Regions from separate parts of the Homo sapiens genome. Here all the other regions are linked to region 3. Evidence: promoter capture Hi-C in 16 types of primary human blood cells and fetal thymus (Javierre and others, 2016). All regions are on one chromosome and are shown on one strand. Each heading gives the region's core, a stretch centred on a gene start or on the middle of the fragment in contact. The rest is flanking DNA. Distances are from core to core; before and after follow the strand shown. Region 1 has its middle 26 kb from the start of LINC02458. Region 2 has its middle 120 kb from the start of DUSP6. Region 3 holds the start of RLIG1 (RNA 5'-phosphate and 3'-OH ligase 1).

What was found. The method cuts DNA at HindIII sites, captures the fragments that hold promoters and counts their contacts. A CHiCAGO score of 5 or more calls a contact.
Region 1: a contact is called between a fragment that was not itself captured here and the fragment with the promoter of RLIG1 in region 3, in 1 of 17 cell types (activated CD4 T cells). The highest score is 6.8, in activated CD4 T cells.
Region 2: a fragment that was not itself captured here is called in contact with the fragment with the promoter of RLIG1 in region 3 in 1 of 17 cell types (non-activated CD4 T cells); the score reaches 5.6 in non-activated CD4 T cells.

What each region holds. Positions count from the first base shown.
Region 1 is chr12:89,043,751-89,047,632 of GRCh38, forward strand. No RefSeq gene overlaps it. Among named protein-coding and RNA genes, the nearest start is that of LINC02458, 26 kb to the left of the region's middle. The HindIII fragment of the contact is 845 bases long and covers 1,721-2,565 here.
Region 2 is chr12:89,232,648-89,236,189 of GRCh38, forward strand. No RefSeq gene overlaps it. Among named protein-coding and RNA genes, the nearest start is that of DUSP6, 120 kb to the right of the region's middle. The HindIII fragment of the contact is 5,220 bases long and covers 1-3,542 here.
Region 3 is chr12:88,033,383-88,037,147 of GRCh38, forward strand. It overlaps RLIG1 (RNA 5'-phosphate and 3'-OH ligase 1), which reads left to right and starts at 2,154. Exons shown (of 7, transcript NM_001009894.3): 1 at 2,154-2,356. The coding sequence starts at 2,267. LOC107984542 (a long non-coding RNA gene) reads right to left here and starts at 2,114. Exons shown (of 3, transcript XR_007063395.1): 1 at 2,032-2,114; 2 at 329-965. The HindIII fragment of the contact is 2,128 bases long and covers 581-2,708 here.

The sequences.
Region 1 (3,882 bases), core at 893-3,392, 1.0 Mb after region 3:
ATCTATGTTGACAGCAGTCAGGATAGTGATTAACTTTAGGGTGGTGGGGGTGCTTCTAGGGTGCTGACAGTGCTCTATTTCTTGATGTGGGGTACAGTTGCATAAGCATATTCAATTCATAAAAACTCATTGAAATGTACATTTATAATTTATGCTTGGTGTCATGAGACAGAGTAATCATATACTCTAGGAAGAATATATTCAATGGGAAGGGAGCTCAGGGACTCCCACTTCAACTCAGCCTGTGAACCAGTTGCCCTTAGATGTCTACCCAGAATCTACAGGAGAAGGATTTGCACCCTTTCTATGTGCTTCTGTTGTTACGTGTATTCTTTCATAGTGATTGTCAGCTTCCATAGGTGTCTCCCTCAATGTACCACAGGCCACTTGAGGGCAGAGACTGCTTCTTTTATTTCTAACTTTCCCAAGATTAGCATTGTATATGACAAGTGAATGGTTTTCAATAACTCTGAATCAAAGAATAAATCCCTGACCTGTAAGAAGTACCCATCTCTTTCTCTCCTCATATTTTTTTTTCTTTCTCTCTTCCTCCAGTTTTTCCTTCCAGCCAGGGGAACCTCTATTAGACAGCAGCTTTCATGTCTCTTTTGATAAGAACCATTATTAACAGTCTAAACTGAAACAGTGGCCAAGTCCACTTCAAAGTGTACCCAAAGTACATACCATGATTTACTCTCTAATTAGACAAAAGTTTCCATTGAAGAAATTCACTGATTTGTTGCTTAAGCAGCAAGCATCTGCAGTTAATGGGGTCTTTCAGGACGGTGGGTATAGCTTCTAGAGAATCATCCACGTTATGTGAAGTGGAAGATCAACAAATTCAACAGCTGATAACAACACAATGCACTTCACCTGAGGACAAACAACTACAACTAAGGCACTTTACAGGCTGTCATGAATGATCTGCAAAATGCCCCCAACAGGGGAAGGAGGGTCCTGAAATACGAGCTCAGTATCGGATGAGCACTTGCTTATGGTGCACAAGTACTAGTCTACAATTCTTTGCACACGGTATATTAAACATTAAGGTATAATTGGCTGAAAATGGCATTAAGCTGTAGAATTTTTTTCTATAGAAATACCCATATGTGCAAAATGATATGTGAAAAAAAAGTTCATAGAATCATTTGGAATAGGGAAAATTGGAATCAATTGCAATGCTTATTATTAATAGAATGTTCAAATTACGGTACTGTCATTTTATGAAGTAATAAGTAGCGGTTAAAAGAGCATAGGATGCCTCTATATGTATCAGCATGGAATTATATGAAATATCCAGAGAAAATACTGCAGAACTATATGTAATTTCCAATTATATGAAATTTTTAAATACAGAAATATGTTTATAAAATGCATAGAAAAACATCTGGAAAGATTTATACCAAAAGTTGATGGCGGTTATATCAGAGAGAAAGAGTTAGAGAAATGAGAAAGAGAGCCAGGAATGGAAGGAATGACATTTTGCTTTTTCTTATTTATATTTCTGATTTGCTTAAATCTTTTATAATGAGCTTATACTGCATGATAATGCTTAAAATCTTTAAGGTATTAGATTACTTTAGAAATGAGTTTGAAATAATCTTCATTGCTTACCTTGGATATTTATTCCATCTTCCTATGTACCAACCATTTGACTAACAGTAAAATAGAGATAATAATTACTACTTCACAGTGTGGTAGCAGGAAATGATCTATGTAAAGCTTTCAGCCCAATTTCTGCTACTGATAAAATTTATTTGTACAAGTTGATTATTGCTGTTTGTAATAAAGCATGCCAAAAATCAGTAGTTCAAAACAATGACCATTTATTATTGCTCATGTAACTATAACTTTGCTGGAGATTGGCTGGTACAAACGGGGTTTATCTGGGCTGCTGTCTTGAGTTTGGCTGTGCTCTACACACCAACATCCTACTTGGATCAACGTGATAATCAGAGCATGTACTTATGGTGACAGCAGAAGCACAGATAGGGCAAACATGCAAAGTCTATTAAGGAATAGGTTTAGAACTGACACACTGTAATTTCTACCTCATCCTATTGGCCAAATATAACACAAGACCTATCTCACAGCAAAGGGATATAGAAATACACTTCACTAAGAGTGACCAACCATCTCAGATTGCCCAGGACTTGGGGGGCTTCCAGAATGCAGAAATTTCCATAGTAAAACCAGGAAAGTCCTTGGGTAAATCTGGACTGGCTGGCCACTCAACATGTCTCTCTATTTAGTGAGATGAATTTCAAAGTTACCCAGCAACAAGTATGGAAAGGGATGGGATCAAGACTCAAGGCCAGCGATGCAATCCACTACACCTTTAATACTGTCATAATCTCAGCAACTAGAAAAACAGGCAAATAGTAGGTGGTCCAAATTAATTTTGGTAGATTGATTTTAAGTTGGCTGAACAACATCAGATCCCCCTAAACTCTCCATCAACAGAATATTTCCCAGAATAGACTCCTCAAATAAAAGGGTATTAAAGATGTTTCTGTAGTAACGGGGTATAGCATTAGACAGGTGATTAGGATAGATTATTAAAGAAGCTTAAGACTCTTTCAAACCTAATTCTAACTTCATTTGACAGACAATAAGATCAGTCTCTCCAAGACCAATGAAAATTGTTAATATCAATCTCCTTTCCTTCTAGGGAGAATATTTTGCTTATAACAGACTCTTACCAGGGGCAGGTTGTCTGACTTCTAATCATTTGCTTGTATGTGATCATGAATATTTATTTAGCCCCCTCAGCTTTACTAATCCTTTTCAAACGCAGGGACCCGTTGTGGGTGTTTGTTCCCAGAGGTTAAATCCACAGAGCCAGGGGGAGCTCCACTCTGCCTGTTGTTTCCCTATACCCACTATTCCTCTTCCTGTCTAGACTATACATTTCTCCTCTGAAGACAGATCCTTATGGATAAGATCAATGCATAGGCACGAATCAGAAAGATTTCTCTCAATTTACAACCATTTTCTTTATCTGAAATGCATCAAAGAAGAAAGACTATTAAAGCCTGCAAGTGTTAGGGTTTTTAAATTTAAAAAAATAATAATAAGGAAAAGCAGGACTCTAGACATCCCATAATGGGAATGGGCAGCTAAAATATAATACTTTGGGTTCATTTTCATATGAACTTGGATAATAAAACAAAGAAATAATAACATGCAATGAAAACACACTCAAATGAGAGAGCCAACCGGGAGATGACTGTCAAAAAAAGTTTGAGAGTTAAAATGGCAGATAGTTTCAAAGCTTTCAGGAAAATCAATTAGAGCCTAAGTGACCTCTAGGACAAGTATCTGGACACTAGCCACTTTACAAATTCCAATCTAGGCGTGAGTAACAAGTGAATTAAACTGCTTAGAGTTCTATCAATAATCAGGAATGTATAGTTTAGATAGATTACCTTAAATTTTAATCAATAATTTTAAAGGGACCCAGTAATCAGCTTCATTACACTCTACCCAGATGAAGTAAGTGGGGTCAACTAACTAAAATATAAAGGAGTTTTCAACTGCTCACCTCTCCTCACAAATGGGTACTCTCCCGACTGACTCTGTGACATTTATACAGCCTGTAATTCTGAACACATCACCTGCTTTAGGAGACCTAGCAGCAACTCCATATGTAGACTTAAGATCTTGTTAAGCACTTGGGCCTGATAGAAACTGACAAAGTCTTTGCCTTACCTGAGATTCCAGCACAGCTGAGCACCCAGGAGATTCCCAGTTGACAAATAGTGAGGGCAAAGAGCAAGCCGGTCCCCAAGCTGAGCTTCCCCCAGGTCCTTCTTTTGATCCACTGGCTTCCCAGCCCATCTGTTTTCATTCTTAGTTTAATTTGATGAGGGAGGTGGTAAA
Region 2 (3,542 bases), core at 49-2,548, 1.2 Mb after region 3:
GGGCTGTCTTAGGATTCTAGTGACAATAAAATTTTAATACTGAGGGTCAGGATGAAAAAACTTAAATCATATTGTAAGGCAGAGCTAGGAAGAATTGTGGCAACCTCCTAACAACTCTTTCTAGTCTCTATTCTTGCTGCCTTCAAATTCAATCTTCATAGAACTGTCTGTATTAAACATCTAAAGCATATTTTGTAAGCTCCTCATTGCCTACAAGATCAAGTTTAAATAACTTAACCTGACCCACAAACCCTCCATGGTTTGACTGGTCTCTCGAGCCTCTTGCCAATTCCATATTCATGCTTTATGCCTCAGAAACACCAAACTGCATATAGTTTCCCTCATTCACCATGATATTTCTCACCTCTGTGCCTTTATTCAAGCTGTGCTCTCCACGGGGACACCCTCTGTGTTCTCACTACCTCTTTATCCAGGTAACTCCTATTCGTTCTTTAATTTTGCTCAAGTGTCACTTCATTTACTCATTCATTTATCCAAAAAAATAACCGTCAAACATCCACTCTGTGCCAGAGACTAGGGTGTAGTGATACATACCCCAGTCTCTGCTTTCAGAGAGCATGCACTGTAGTTTGGAGCATAGGTAATTCAACAAATGATCACAGTCCAGTGAAAAGTACAGTGACTAGAGGGGACCTGGAGCACCTACAACAAGGAACTTAGCCAAAGTCAGATATTTTCTGGAAGAAGTGACATCTAAACCAAGACCCAAAGCATGAGTAGGAATGGTCAAGTAAATGGGAGGAGAAGGGAAGTTTCCAGACAAGGGAATAGCATCATAATACATAAAAACATTCTGTATCAGAAAGAACATAGGTTTTTGTTTTTGTTTTTGTTTTGAGACAGAATGTCACTCTGTCACCCAGGCTGGAGTGCAGTGGCGTGATCTCAGCTCACTGCAACCTCCACCTCCCGGGTTCAAACAATTCTCCTGCCTCAGCCTCCCGAGTAGCTGGGATTACAGACACCTACCACCACGTCCAGCTAATTTTTGTATTTTTGTAGTAGAGAGGGGGTTTCACCATGTTGGCCAGGCTGATCTCAAACTCCTGACCTCATGAGATCCGCCTCGGCCTCCCAAAGTGCTGGGATTACAGGTGTGAGCCACCGCACCTGGCCAGAACATAGTCTTTTGTTTTTGTTTTGTTTTTGTTTTGAGACAGAGTCTTGCTCTGTTGCCCAGGCTGGAGTGCAGTGGTGCAATCTCGGCTCACTGCAAGCTCCGCTCTCCCGGGTTCACGCCATTCTCCTGCCTCAGCCTCCTGAGTAGCTGGGACTACAGGTGCCCGCCACCACAACTGGCTAATTTTTTGTATTTTTAGTAGAGACGGGGTTTCACCGTGTTAGGCAGGATGGTCTCCATCTCCTGACCTCGTGATCCGCCTGCCTTGGCCTCCCAAAGTGCTGGGATTACAGGTGTGAGCCACCGTGCCCGGCCGAACATAGATTTTTTAAGAGAGTCAAAACAGCTCAACCTGACTGGGGTATGGAGTGTTGGAGGCAGTACAGGAGCTTTCCCTTGGGCAACGTGGAGCCAGTGAAAAGTTTAAGGTTAGATTTCTGTTTTAGAGACAGCTCCCCTAACTGGCCTGCAGATAATAGATTGGAGGAGGGACTGACAAGAAGAGAAGAAACCAACAGAGAGGTCTGGGGCAGTCATCCAAAGCAGAGAGGAGAGTGACTGGTTTTATATAGGGGCAACAGAGATTGAAAGAGATGGACAGATTTGAGAGAGAATGCCACCTACAAGAACTTGGTGATGAATCAGATGTTAAGGATGAGGGAGGGTGATGTCCATGTTTCTAGCTTGGGCAACAGGGTGGATGCCAGTGTCTGTCACTGACAATGAGAACATGGGTGGAGAAGCGGTTTTGTGGGGGAAGATAATTGTTGCCACATGGCTTCTGGGATAGCCAGTAATTTACAGAGACTATTTCAATTCTTTCTAGCCCACCTGTATGATTCAACTACATTAAGCAAGAAAAGAAGCCCATTTGTTGAGTGTAGGAGCAAGAAGGGAGAATTTAGAAATGGCACCAGTCACTTCTTCCCCTAATTATCCACCTCTTGGCCCAAGGTAGAAGATTCTCATCATATGGGACTTCTTACTCAGCCTCAGTGAGGACAGAGGAGAATGATGGTGATGACCATTCACATTAGCTCTTTTCTCTGACAGCTGAGCTCTTCCCCCAGATATCTGCCTGGCTCCCTCCCTTCTTGGCTTCGTTCAGGTCTCTGCTTAAACGTCACCTGATTAAAGGGGACTTACCGACCACACTTTATAAAGAGAAAAATCTTTCTCCCACACCCCAGCACTCCCTCATTTGCTTTATTTTTCTCATAGCACTTTTCACCACCTCACAGAATATGTGTGTGTGTGTGTGTGTGTGCATGTTTCTGCTTTAGAAGAATGTAAGTTCCAGCAAGGGCAAGGACTTTATTCACTACTGAATCTCCATCTCTAAAACAGTATTCGGCACATAGTGAGCACCAGTAAATATTTATTGAGTGGATGAATGCAGGAATAAAGTCTGATGCTCAGAAGATTGATCTTGGCTGAAGAAAATTATGTGGAAATCATCAGGATAAAAACGGTATTACAATCATAATAGACAGGCTTTCTCAGGAAGAAAACACAGAGTTACAAGAGATCTCTGGGCAATTCCAACATTTACCAATCCTTAAATGATGAGCTGTAAAGGAAGAGCCTGCAAAACAATGAGAAGGCAGAGGCAAGGAAGGAGAGGGAGAACCAGAAAATTAGGGGAGTCAGAGGAACCAAGGGAGGAAGCTGAGCTTACAGAAAGTGTCAACAGTGGCAAATGCAACCAAGAAGACAAATAAGGAAAAGGCTAGAAAGTTTCCGTTGTATTTAACAACCAAGATGCCATTATTGACCTGGGTTGAGAGCAATTTGAGGGAGAGGTCAAGATGAGGGCCAGATTTTAGTGGACTTGGGACTGAAAGGCAAGAGAGAAAGGATAAAAAAAAGAAGTAGATGAGGGAGGTAGCTGGAGGGATGCTGGACTAAGAAGAGGGATTTTTCTCAAGATAGTGGAGAATTGAACAAATTTAAAGGTTGGTGGGAACGACACAGTAAAGAGGAAGAGGTTTAAGATAAGAGAAAGCAAAAAGATAATCAACACCGGGAGATCTCTAAAGTACAGGAAGGGAGGTTTCCTTCTTCAGGAAGCCTCCTCTGACCTCTGCCTACCCCTCCTCCTCTCCTTCCTCCATACTGCAGAGCTGGTGTCAAGTGTGCTTAGGTCTATTACTGTGCTTATCCAGGGGAATTGTAACTCGGTTTATGTCACTGTCATGCCACTAGGTTATGAGCTTAATTAGGGAAGGGATGACTTCAGATTCACCTTTTTATCACTAAGAACTAGCACAAAATCTGGTACATAAAAAATAATAAATATTTGATGAATGAATGAATGGATGAAAGAAGCAATAGACAAGCAGACACATGGACAGACAGACTCAATAAATATATGTATAATGCCTACTGTGTGCCCTTGCTC
Region 3 (3,765 bases), core at 904-3,403:
ACCAACATGATGAAACACTGTCTCTACTAAAAAAAATACAAAACCTAGCTGGGCGTGGTGGCACACGCCTGTAATCCCAGCTACTCAGGAGACTGAGGCGGGAGAATCGCTTGAACCCAAGCCGTGGAGATTGCAGTGAGCCAAGATTGAGCCACTGCACTCCAGCTTGGGTGATAGAGCGAGACTCCATCTAAAAAAAAAAAAAAGCTATTACAGCCCTATGAGGATGATTACTCCTGTAATGAAGAATGATGGGAAATTTGTCTCCAGGGCTGGAAGTAGGCCTGAAAATTCTGTAAGTACTTTGTGTTGGCCAAAGCAGGCTCACATTGTGTGTCTTTCATCTTTGATGCTTACTAGAGCACTAACATATTAGTCAGAGAAGAAAGACTTTCTTCTATTTTGTAATCCTGTGACACCACTTTAAGTACAGTGGCTGGTAGCAACTCCTTGGTGACCCTTCAGAATTATGAGAATCGGGCAAAGTTGATGGCTGCTACCCGTCAGAGCAGGAGTCCAGTTTATAACCGTGAGTTGATCCTGTGCCTCTCCCCTGATGAGGATTTGTGTTTCTGCCAGAAGCTTTGCTCCAGGTACTGATGAAACCAAAGTTTTGGAAATAGAAAGTGCTTCCTGAGAGATGACTAGCTTTGCAACTACTATTCAAAGAATAAGTAGAGTGTGTTTTAGAAGATGAGTATTTCCCACAAATGACAGAATGTTGGACTTAAAAGGTTCTGTGGCAGTTTGGGAGGTGACAGTTGATAGTTGTGAAAGTTGTTGTCTCTGAGATTCGTGAAACACGCCGCTTTTTAGAATGCCTCTGAAAGAACAAAGAAGTCACTGGCACTCGACTATAATATGCTAAAAAGTTTCTGGTTCCAACAGCACACAGCCAGCATCAGGTGTTTTCTTTTTTGATAAATGCAGGCGGGGTGTGATGTGGGAGAACATTTTGTGTTTTCCTGTGAGAAAAAGATAGTAGAAAAGAAAGTAAACACTTTGAAATGGCAAATCTCTTTCTTCCTCCCTCCCCTCTGAATCCAGTAATCAAAAAACTGTGAACTTTTTTTAAATTTTATTTTTTTTCACTGTCAGTATTCAATATAACTGTGAACTTTTTAAAGGAAGATGTTTTATTCTTTGAGAACCCCCTTACTAGTTAGATACCTCTAAGTGAGATATAGTTGTTTAATTTTTCCAAGGGCTAAGTCAGTAACATGCTGGACAGTTGAGTACATGCAGATAAGACAAAGAAATGAGACCTGGGCCTAGTCCAAGCCCATAAAGGATGGCAGTAAAGTCAAAATTCCCCTACAACTTCAGGCTAGGAACTACTACATTCAATGAGATGGAAAGGCTACTATTCCTAAATATTTAGTATTTATTTTATTTAGTCATTGTCCATCTTATCACTTACCCTCAAAATATTCTTTTGAGCAGTAAGTTAAGGCTGTTTTTAGCTCGCAGTTGATTGACTACCATTACTCAAGCCATTTGGGCTGTTGGAGCTCACCTTTAATTAAACAAGATTCTTATGAAAAACTTGAGAATGAAATCTGGTTGTAGGTATTCCTGTACTTTTGGATTAGTCTAAGGCTGAAATTTCGCACTCACTCCGAAAAGAACATCAGAATCATTTCGACCATGCTATGCTGCACAATAAGGAGTAGTTCAAACGACAACTTTTTTTGATCCCAGGTGTTTTATTATAGGGTTTTCTGATAGTCTTACCGGAAAGGAAGTTTTCATTCTGCTTGGGAATCTGGGGATGTCTCTAGCCATTTCTAAACTTCTACAGTGCTTCCCCCACGAACTAAAGATAACAGGCAAGCAGTTTCCATTGGAACTGTGTTAAATCGACATCTGAAATGTTCATTGCTTATAATTTGATCTTATTTAATTTCCCAAAAAATCATTAGTTACTAGGTATTGCTAAGTACCCACGTTCGGGAAACGCATCTTTTTTTTTTTTTTTTCACGGTTATTAAAACCGAGGGTGGGGGGCGGAGGACGCACGTGGGAACCCACCAGGCGCCTCAGCTTCTGCACTACAACTCCCAGAAGGCGCCGCGGCCAGGAAGCCGCTTCTGGACGGGCGTTCCCGCCCCTCGCTGGGCTTGGTAGTTGGGGCGCAGCCGCGGTGGCTGGGCGCGGAGTGTGCGTGGCCTGAGCCGTGCGGGTGACTGCTTCAGGGCTTCTCCGCGACTGGACCGGGCGCCGCTCGAAAGCACGCCCTCCATTCGCACTGCTTGTTGGGCTCATCATGAAGCGCTTGGGCTCCGTGCAGCGGAAAATGCCGTGTGTGTTTGTGACGGAGGTGAAAGAGGAGCCTTCCTCCAAAAGGGAGCATCAGGTACGGAGGAGCGCCGGGCAGGCTTGGCGGCCCGCGTGGGCTCCTCCCCGCGGCGCTGGCTCAGTGCGAACCCGGCGAGGGCGGCTGGGCGCTTTAGAACTGCCCTGCAGGCCAGGAACCTCTGTAGGTTTCCCTGGGGAGGTCTGGGGTGGGAGTTCCGTACGCCCTGAGCTCCAGGTTCTTGTACTTTTCTTAGTTGTGAGGGAGGGAATTTGCGAAAGAATTTTCCTTATCAGGAGATTCAAACTTGTCCTCGCAAGGAAATGGATAACTCACATCCACAGCATGTCCCTTCCTTTTCAGGTCAGCACCTTTTGGGGAAACCCCCTAATCAGGTAATTGCCACAGTCCAAGCTTTACTACTTTTCAAGAGTGCAGTAAGAAAGGGTGGATATTAGAAGACTTGCTTTACCTGTTCTGTCCGAACCAGTGGCGGTGTTGACAGTAGCCTAATTAGGTCACTGAAGTTCACACCTCATATTACCAGTAATTACTTAATTTATTCTAACTTTGGTGTTCTCAAGGTTTTCTGTTGCAGCAACGTGTTTTCCATAGTGTGCCCTCGGTAAATGCTAGTGAGTAACCTATATTTGGGTAATTTTTTCATATTGTACTATAAAACGTTGTAGTCTTTGATCAGTAGAATCCCCAGTGATTAGTTGGGTGCTTCCCAACTTTGCTGATTTCAAACAAAACCAACATGTCCATTGGAAATCCACCTCACTTGAGTTTCATCATTGGCACTGGCTTTCTCGTCTTCTGGACTAAAACTTGTTTAAGGCAAAGATTGCCCTGTTATCTTTAGTCCCAGCTTCTAGGACCTGGCACGTGGTAGGCACTGGATAAATATTTGTTGAATTAAAGAATGAACCCTGGAATCATTTCATGCCAGTTTTCCATTCACCTTGATGCTTTTTACCTTATAGCATCTGATCTTTTCCTGCTTTCTAGTGCTGTCACAGCTGTTACAGTTAATATTTCATGTCCTGCTCATTGCACCACCTAACTGGTCTTACTTGCCACTCAGACTGATCATCACCATGTTCTTTCCTCGTCAGAATACCACAGTTATTACTCAATGTTTGTAGCAGTAATTGGCTTTTTTTTTTAGCTGTAACAAATGTAATCCATATGAAACATTATCATCTGTTTTAGTATTTCACTCTACTGTGATTTTCAACTTCGTATGTTTGAGGGGAGTAGTTTGTGAAAGTATTCTCCACCAGGGAAAATAAGCAGCCCCTTCTCTTACCTCTCTGCAGTTAAGAACAGCTTACAGTATCGTTTATAGCATAGCATCCACATTCTTAATTATAATTCAGGGCCTCCCACTAATGAGGCTCAATCTACCTTCCATCGTCCTTAAAGTGGATTCTGTTTTAACCATCTATTTCATCCTGTGAACATAT